2 separate regions of the Homo sapiens genome follow, and region 2 is linked to region 1. Evidence: promoter capture Hi-C in 16 types of primary human blood cells and fetal thymus (Javierre and others, 2016). All regions are on one chromosome and are shown on one strand. Each heading gives the region's core, a stretch centred on a gene start or on the middle of the fragment in contact. The rest is flanking DNA. Distances are from core to core; before and after follow the strand shown.

Evidence for each region. The method cuts DNA at HindIII sites, captures the fragments that hold promoters and counts their contacts. A CHiCAGO score of 5 or more calls a contact.
Region 2: a contact is called between a fragment that was not itself captured here and the fragment with the promoter of HTT in region 1, in 1 of 17 cell types (neutrophils). The highest score is 5.4, in neutrophils.

The regions. Positions count from the first base shown.
Region 1 is chr4:3,072,868-3,077,341 of GRCh38, forward strand. It overlaps HTT (huntingtin), which reads left to right and starts at 1,814. Exons shown (of 67, transcript NM_001388492.1): 1 at 1,814-2,221. The coding sequence starts at 1,959. It also overlaps HTT-AS. RefSeq lists silencers at 870-1,489, 1,640-2,079, 2,190-2,259 and enhancers at 2,420-2,649, 2,660-2,709. The HindIII fragment of the contact is 9,982 bases long and covers 1-4,474 here.
Region 2 is chr4:2,009,524-2,013,997 of GRCh38, forward strand. It overlaps LOC124900839, which reads right to left. Exons shown (of 4, transcript XM_047416543.1): 4 at 1-650. The coding sequence starts at 238. Among named protein-coding and RNA genes, the nearest start is that of NELFA, 2.8 kb to the left of the region's middle. RefSeq lists a silencer at 1-201. The HindIII fragment of the contact is 3,743 bases long and covers 216-3,958 here.

The DNA.
Region 1 (4,474 bases), core at 564-3,063:
TCTGCCTGCCTTGGCCTCCCAAAGTGCTGGGATTACAGGCGTGAGCCACCGCACCTCGCTGGAACTTAATTTTTTTAGAGACAGTGTCGCTCTATCACCCAAGCTGGAGTGCAGTGGTGCAATCCTAGCTCACTTGCAGCCTCAAATTCCTGGGTTCAGGTGATCCTCCCACATCAGCCTCCCAAGAACTGGGAACTAACAGCTGTTTCTCTGCTGTCCTTCTCAAGAAAAGGGAGGCTACTGCTACCCCACTGGGGACAATGCTGGGTTTCCCTTTAGGACAGGCTCTGAGACAAGGCGGAGGTGCTGTTTGTGGCCACAGAGCAGGGGACTCTGGGTTGCAGGTGTGGCCTGGCTAAAGTAGGCTTTACTGGGCTCCTCTCTGCCTGCATCACCCCCCGGCTGGGCGGTTGTCTCTGAGGCCAACCTTACTCCCTGCTGGGCAGGCTGGACAGCTGCCCTCTCCGTTTGCCCCTCTACCACCCAAAAGGCAGGAGGCTCTGGAGACCAGGACCCTGCCCGCCACGGCCTGTGTCCCAGGCGTGAGGGGGTGCCCCACAGACCTCTGCTGAGCTGCTGCTGAATGACGCCCCTTGGGGGTCCTGCCGGAAGGTCAGAGCAGGGGTGCACTCCCATAAAGAAACGCCCCCAGGTCGGGACTCATTCCTGTGGGCGGCATCTTGTGGCCATAGCTGCTTCTCGCTGCACTAATCACAGTGCCTCTGTGGGCAGCAGGCGCTGACCACCCAGGCCTGCCCCAGACCCTCTCCTCCCTTCCGGGGCGCTGCGCTGGGACCGATGGGGGGCGCCAGGCCTGTGGACACCGCCCTGCAGGGGCCTCTCCAGCTCACTGGGGGTGGGGTGGGGGTCACACTTGGGGTCCTCAGGTCGTGCCGACCACGCGCATTCTCTGCGCTCTGCGCAGGAGCTCGCCCACCCTCTCCCCGTGCAGAGAGCCCCGCAGCTGGCTCCCCGCAGGGCTGTCCGGGTGAGTATGGCTCTGGCCACGGGCCAGTGTGGCGGGAGGGCAAACCCCAAGGCCACCTCGGCTCAGAGTCCACGGCCGGCTGTCGCCCCGCTCCAGGCGTCGGCGGGGGATCCTTTCCGCATGGGCCTGCGCCCGCGCTCGGCGCCCCCTCCACGGCCCCGCCCCGTCCATGGCCCCGTCCTTCATGGGCGAGCCCCTCCATGGCCCTGCCCCTCCGCGCCCCACCCCTCCCTCGCCCCACCTCTCACCTTCCTGCCCCGCCCCCAGCCTCCCCACCCCTCACCGGCCAGTCCCCTCCCCTATCCCGCTCCGCCCCTCAGCCGCCCCGCCCCTCAGCCGGCCTGCCTAATGTCCCCGTCCCCAGCATCGCCCCGCCCCGCCCCCGTCTCGCCCCGCCCCTCAGGCGGCCTCCCTGCTGTGCCCCGCCCCGGCCTCGCCACGCCCCTACCTCACCACGCCCCCCGCATCGCCACGCCCCCCGCATCGCCACGCCTCCCTTACCATGCAGTCCCGCCCCGTCCCTTCCTCGTCCCGCCTCGCCGCGACACTTCACACACAGCTTCGCCTCACCCCATTACAGTCTCACCACGCCCCGTCCCCTCTCCGTTGAGCCCCGCGCCTTCGCCCGGGTGGGGCGCTGCGCTGTCAGCGGCCTTGCTGTGTGAGGCAGAACCTGCGGGGGCAGGGGCGGGCTGGTTCCCTGGCCAGCCATTGGCAGAGTCCGCAGGCTAGGGCTGTCAATCATGCTGGCCGGCGTGGCCCCGCCTCCGCCGGCGCGGCCCCGCCTCCGCCGGCGCAGCGTCTGGGACGCAAGGCGCCGTGGGGGCTGCCGGGACGGGTCCAAGATGGACGGCCGCTCAGGTTCTGCTTTTACCTGCGGCCCAGAGCCCCATTCATTGCCCCGGTGCTGAGCGGCGCCGCGAGTCGGCCCGAGGCCTCCGGGGACTGCCGTGCCGGGCGGGAGACCGCCATGGCGACCCTGGAAAAGCTGATGAAGGCCTTCGAGTCCCTCAAGTCCTTCCAGCAGCAGCAGCAGCAGCAGCAGCAGCAGCAGCAGCAGCAGCAGCAGCAGCAGCAGCAACAGCCGCCACCGCCGCCGCCGCCGCCGCCGCCTCCTCAGCTTCCTCAGCCGCCGCCGCAGGCACAGCCGCTGCTGCCTCAGCCGCAGCCGCCCCCGCCGCCGCCCCCGCCGCCACCCGGCCCGGCTGTGGCTGAGGAGCCGCTGCACCGACCGTGAGTTTGGGCCCGCTGCAGCTCCCTGTCCCGGCGGGTCCCAGGCTACGGCGGGGATGGCGGTAACCCTGCAGCCTGCGGGCCGGCGACACGAACCCCCGGCCCCGCAGAGACAGAGTGACCCAGCAACCCAGAGCCCATGAGGGACACCCGCCCCCTCCTGGGGCGAGGCCTTCCCCCACTTCAGCCCCGCTCCCTCACTTGGGTCTTCCCTTGTCCTCTCGCGAGGGGAGGCAGAGCCTTGTTGGGGCCTGTCCTGAATTCACCGAGGGGAGTCACGGCCTCAGCCCTCTCGCCCTTCGCAGGATGCGAAGAGTTGGGGCGAGAACTTGTTTCTTTTTATTTGCGAGAAACCAGGGCGGGGGTTCTTTTAACTGCGTTGTGAAGAGAACTTGGAGGAGCCGAGATTTGCTCAGTGCCACTTCCCTCTTCTAGTCTGAGAGGGAAGAGGGCTGGGGGCGCGGGACACTTCGAGAGGAGGCGGGGTTTGGAGCTGGAGAGATGTGGGGGCAGTGGATGACATAATGCTTTTAGGACGCCTCGGCGGGAGTGGCGGGGCAGGGGGGGGGCGGGGAGTGAGGGCGCGTCCAATGGGAGATTTCTTTTCCTAGTGGCACTTAAAACAGCCTGAGATTTGAGGCTCTTCCTACATTGTCAGGACATTTCATTTAGTTCATGATCACGGTGGTAGTAACACGATTTTAAGCACCACCTAAGAGATCTGCTCATCTAAGCCTAAGTTGGTCTGCAGGCGTTTGAATGAGTTGTGGTTGCCAAGTAAAGTGGTGAACTTACGTGGTGATTAATGAAATTATCTTAAATATTAGGAAGAGTTGATTGAAGTTTTTTGCCTATGTGTGTTGGGAATAAAACCAACACGTTGCTGATGGGGAGGTTAATTGCCGAGGGATGAATGAGGTGTACATTTTACCAGTATTCCAGTCAGGCTTGCCAGAATACGGGGGGTCCGCAGACTCCGTGGGCATCTCAGATGTGCCAGTGAAAGGGTTTCTGTTTGCTTCATTGCTGACAGCTTGTTACTTTTTGGAAGCTAGGGGTTTCTGTTGCTTGTTCTTGGGGAGAATTTTTGAAACAGGAAAAGAGAGACCATTAAAACATCTAGCGGAACCCCAGGACTTTCCCTGGAAGTCTGTGTGTCGAGTGTACAGTAGGAGTTAGGAAGTACTCTGGTGCAGTTCAGGCCTTTCTCTTACCTCTCAGTATTCTATTTCCGATCTGGATGTGTCCCAGATGGCATTTGGTAAGAATATCTCTGTTAAGACTGATTAATTTTTAGTAATATTTCTTGTTCTTTGTTTCTGTTATGATCCTTGTCTCGTCTTCAAAGTTTAATTAGAAAATGATTCGGAGAGCAGTGTTAGCTTATTTGTTGGAATAAAATTTAGGAATAAATTATTCTAAAGGATGGAAAAACTTTTTGGATATTTGGAGAAATTTTAAAACAATTTGGCTTATCTCTTCAGTAAGTAATTTCTCATCCAGAAATTTACTGTAGTGCTTTTCTAGGAGGTAGGTGTCATAAAAGTTCACACATTGCATGTATCTTGTGTAAACACTAAACAGGGCTCCTGATGGGAAGGAAGACCTTTCTGCTGGGCTGCTTCAGACACTTGATCATTCTAAAAATATGCCTTCTCTTTCTTATGCTGATTTGACAGAACCTGCATTTGCTTATCTTCAAAATATGGGTATCAAGAAATTTCCTTTGCTGCCTTGACAAAGGAGATAGATTTTGTTTCATTACTTTAAGGTAATATATGATTACCTTATTTAAAAAATTTAATCAGGACTGGCAAGGTGGCTTACACCTTTAATCCGAGCACTTTGGGAGGCCTAGGTGGACGAATCACCTGAGGTCAGGAGTTTGAGACCAGCCTGGCTAACATGGTGAAACCCTGTCTCTACTAAAAATACAAAAATTAGCTGGTCATGGTGGCACGTGCCTGTAATCCAAGCTACCTGGGAGGCTGAGGCAGGAAAATCGCTTGAACCCGGGAGGCAGAGTCTGCAGTGAGTTGAGATCACGCCACTGCACTCCAGCCTGGGTGACAGAGCGAGACTCTATCTCAAAAAAAATTTTTTTTAATGTATTATTTTTGCATAAGTAATACATTGACATGATACAAATTCTGTAATTACAAAAGGGCAATAATTAAAATATCTTCCTTCCACCCCTTTCCTCTGAGTACCTAACTTTGTCCCCAAGAACAAGCACTATTTCAGTTCCTCATG
Region 2 (4,474 bases), core at 837-3,336, 1.1 Mb before region 1:
CTGCGGGATCCCGGTCGCAGCGCTGAGCTTCCGTCCCCCGCTGAGCCCGCTCTGCCCGTGGCGCGCCGCCGACGGGGCTGCGCTGAGCATGCGGGTCGGAGGGCGCTCGGGAGCTGTCCAGGGGCACTCGTGACCCCACAGTGCAGGGAGGCCCCGGCCCCCAGTCGGGCTGGAGCCGCCAGGCAGGAGCCAGTAGTGAACTTTTCAGTTTTAAAAGCTTGTCATTAGATACAAACATGAGTAAAAGTTAAACTTCATTTTATTAAATTCGTTTTACCCTTTTGTCTTTTTGACGAGGCCTTCCTATGTTGGCCAGGCTGGTCTCAAACTCCTGGGCTCAAGCGATCCGCCCGCCCGCCTCTGCCTCCCAGAGTGCTGGGGTTACAGGTCGGGGCCGCCTTGCTTGGCTTCTGTATTATATCTTTTTTTTAAAAGATCTTTTCCTTATTGTTCCACTGCCATGCTCCTGCCGCCGTTCACAGCTATTGCCACTGGGCGGTGGGAACGCCGGGAGAACAGGGCTCAGCCCAGCTGCTAGCAGTGCCCTGGCCCTGGCGGCTTGAACTTGGCAGTCCTGCGGAAGTCACACGGGGGAAACCCGCAAATGCTACAAATCAGTGCTGGAGCGGTGGTTTTGTTGATTGCTTAAACTGAAGAAAGTGATAGAGAAAATGTTGATGATAAAGATTAAACTTAAAACTGTCATGTCGACAACCGTTACATTGCAAATAGCACATAAAATTTAAGAGAATATTTTTTAAATGATTCAAAAGTGTCGAATTCAGCAAAGACAAGTTATTGACTAATGGGTGAAGTTGTGACATCAGTGGGGCTAGTGCTGAAAGAAGTTTAATGATTAGGCCGGTCACGGTGGCTCACGCCTGTAATCCCAGCACTTTGGGAGGCCAAGGCGGGCGGATCACCTGAGGTCGGGAGTTCGAGACCAGCCTGGCCAGCATGGAGAAACCTCGTCTCTACTAAAAATACAAAACTAGCCGGGCTTGGTGGCGCATGGCTTGCCTGTAAGCCCAGCTACTCGGGAGGCTGAGGCAGGAGAATGGCTTGAACCCGGGAGGCGGAGTCTGCGGTGAGCCGAGATTTTGCCATTGCACTCCAGCCTGGGCCACAAGAGCAAAACTCCCTCTCAAAAAAAAAAAAAAAAGTTTAATAATTATAATCTGAGGGTAAGAAATAGTTTAACAGTGGACGACATATCAAATTTAGTATGAGAAGAGTGAAAGTTACTTCAAGTTGTGAAATCATGATTGAACCGTAAACATTAGTTGGTTGAAATGAAAATTTTTGTTCACAGAAACCTGTGTGCAAACGTTTATAGCAGCTTTATTTATAATAGCCCCAAACTTGAAACAATCCGAATGATTCTGACCCCCAACTGTCTGTAGCTTTCTGTAGGATACGCAGCACTTTTCTGTATACAGTGCTTGATGCATCTTGAGTCTTCAGTTTTATGCAGGAAAAATCCAAGTTAACATCTGGCTTAACCAAGAAGACAAACCACTAGGAGGACTTAGTTACAGCATCAGAAAGCAATGGATTAATATTCAGAATGAAAAAAGGAATGCTTGTAAATCGACGAGAAAAAGACCGACAATAGACAAATGTGCAGAAGATAAGAATAGGCAATTCACAGCCTGGCCATCATAGTGAAACCCCGTTTCTACTAAAAATACGAAAACAGTGGGGCGTGGTGGTTCATGCCTGTCATCCCAGCTACTCAGGAGGCTGAGGCAGGAGAATCGCTTGAACCCAGGAGGCAGAGGTTGGAGGGAGCGGAAATCACACCACTGAACTCAGGCGTGGGCCACAGAGCGAGACTCTGTCTCAAAAAAAAAAAAAAAAAAAAAAGCAATTCGTAGGAGAAACCCAAATACCGGAGAAGCACATGGAGAGATGCTTAAATTCATCAGCAACCTGACAAACCCAAATTAAAATAACAAGATGCCTCATTACACCTATCAGATTGCAAAATTAGAAAGCCAAAGTTTTTTTCATTTTAAAACATGGTATCCAGTTGTTCCCATATTATTTGTCGAAATGACGATCCTTTCTGGACTTTTCTATCCTGACTTACTCATCTATCTTTATGCCAATACCAGACTGTCTTGGTTACTATAGCTTTCTAAAATAAGTGTTGAAATCAGGTAGTGTTAATTCTCTGACTTTTTTTTTTTTAAAGTTATTTGGGTTATTTTAGGTCCTCTGTATTTCCTTTTTTTTTTTTTTTTTTTTTTTTTTTTTTGAGGCAAGGTCTGGCTCTGTTGCCCAAGCTGGAGTGCAGTGATGCAATCTCAGCTTGCTTCAGCCTCTACCTCCTGCGTTCAAGTAATTCTCATGGCTCAGCCTTGCAAGTAGCTGGGAATACAGGCATGCACCACCAAACCTGGCTAATTTTTGTATTTTCAGTAGAGACGGGGTTTCACCCTGTTGGCCAGGCTGGTCTAGAACTCCTGACCGCAAGTGATCCACCCACCTCAGCCTTCCAAAGTGCTGGGATTACAGGTGAGCCACAGTGCCCAGCCTGCATTTCCATATAAATTTTAGAATCGTTTGTCAATTTCTACAAAAAAAAAAAAAGGCTTCTGGCATTTTGAGTGGAATTGTGTTGAATCTGTAGGTCAGTTGAGGGAGAACTGGTAACTTCTGTCTAGTGAACATAGTATTTCTCTCTGTTTATTTGGGTCTTTAAATTCTCTCAGCTAGGCTCATGGCTATGTAATCCCAGCACTTTGGGAGGCCGAGGAGGGTGGATTGCTTGAGCCCAGGAGTTGGAAACCAGCCTCAGTAACGTGGCGAAACCCCATCTCTACAACAAATATAAAAAGCTGGGCTGGTGGTGCGCCTGTAGTCCCAGCTACTTAGGAGGTTGAGGTGGGAGGATCACTTGAGCTCAGGAGTTCAAGACCAGCCTGAGCCACATGGTGGGACTCTGTCTCTAAAAAATTAAAAATAAATTAAAAAATAAATTTTCTCAGCCCCATTTTGTAGTGTTCAATGTAAGGGTCTTGCACATCTTTTCAGAATTGCCTCCAAGTATTGCATAACCTTGATGTGGTTGTAAAGGGTGTTGTTTAAAATTTTTAATTTATCAGTGTTTGTCGCCAGTATATAGAAATACAACAGATTTTTGTGTGTTGATTTTGTATCCTGCAGCCTGGCTAAACGCATTTATTTGTTCCAGTAGTTTTTTCATACATTGTATTAGTTTTCTGCAAAGACAATCATGCCATTTGTGAAGGCAGTTTTATCTTTTTTTCTAATTTATTTGCCTGACTCTGCAACATAAAGAGTCCTTATTTTGGCTGGGCATGGTGGCTCACATCTATAATCCCAGCACTTTGAGAGGCTGAGGCAGGCGGGTCACCTGAGGTCAGGAGTTCGAGACCAGCCTGGCCAACATGGTGAAACCCCATCTCTACTAAAAATACAAAAAATTAGCTGGGCGTGGTGGCAGGCGCTTGTAATTCCAGCTACCCAGGAGGCTGAGGCAGGAGAATCGCTTGAAACCAGGAGGCGGAGGTTGTAGTTAGCGGAGATCGTGCCATTGCACTCCAGCCTGGGCAACAAGAGGGAAACTCCATCTCAAAATCGAGACCAGCCTGGCCAACATGGTAAAACCCCGTCTCTACTAAAAATACAAAAATTAGCTGGACGTGGTGGCAGGCGCCTGTAATCCCAGCTACTTGGGAGGCTGAGGCAGGGGAATTGCTTGAACCCGGGAGGCGAAGGTTGCAGTGAGTTGAGATCGTGCCATTGCACTCCAGCCTGGGCGACCAAAGGGAAAAAAAAAGTCCTTATTTTTACTTTAAAGCAATAAATTTTACAACTTTACTGAATTTCTAAAAAAAAACCCTAGTGGTATTTTGATTGGCTTTCCATTGGGTTTGTAGATTAATTTAGAGAGAACTGACATCTTTATATAGTATATGATACACAGACAAGCTTTCATTTTTCTTTCTTTATGATCTTCAGTAGACGTTACTATTTTTCTCCATACAGTTTTTTTTTTTTTTAAGAGAGGGTCTTACTCTGTTGCCCAGGCTGGAATGCAGTGGTGCGATCTCAGCTCACTGCAGCCTCCGCCTCCCAAGCTCAAGCGATTCTCATGCCTCAGCCTTTCAAGTAGCTGGGACTACAGGCATATGCTACCATGCCCAGCTAATTTTTGTGTTTTTCTCTTTTTTGATATAGAGTCTCGCTCTGTTGGTGAGGCTGGGGTGCAGTGGCGCGATCTCGGCTCGCTGCAACCTCCGCCTCCCGGGGTCAAGCAATTCTCCTGCCTCTCACCTTCCCTAGTAGCCTCCGCCTCCCGGGTTCAAGTGATTCTCATCGCTCAGCCTCCTGAGTAGCTGGGATTACAGGCATGCAACACCAAGCCTGGCTAATTTTTGTATTTTCGGTAGAGACGGGATTTCACCATGTTGGCCAGGCTGGTCTCGAACTCCTGATCTCAGAT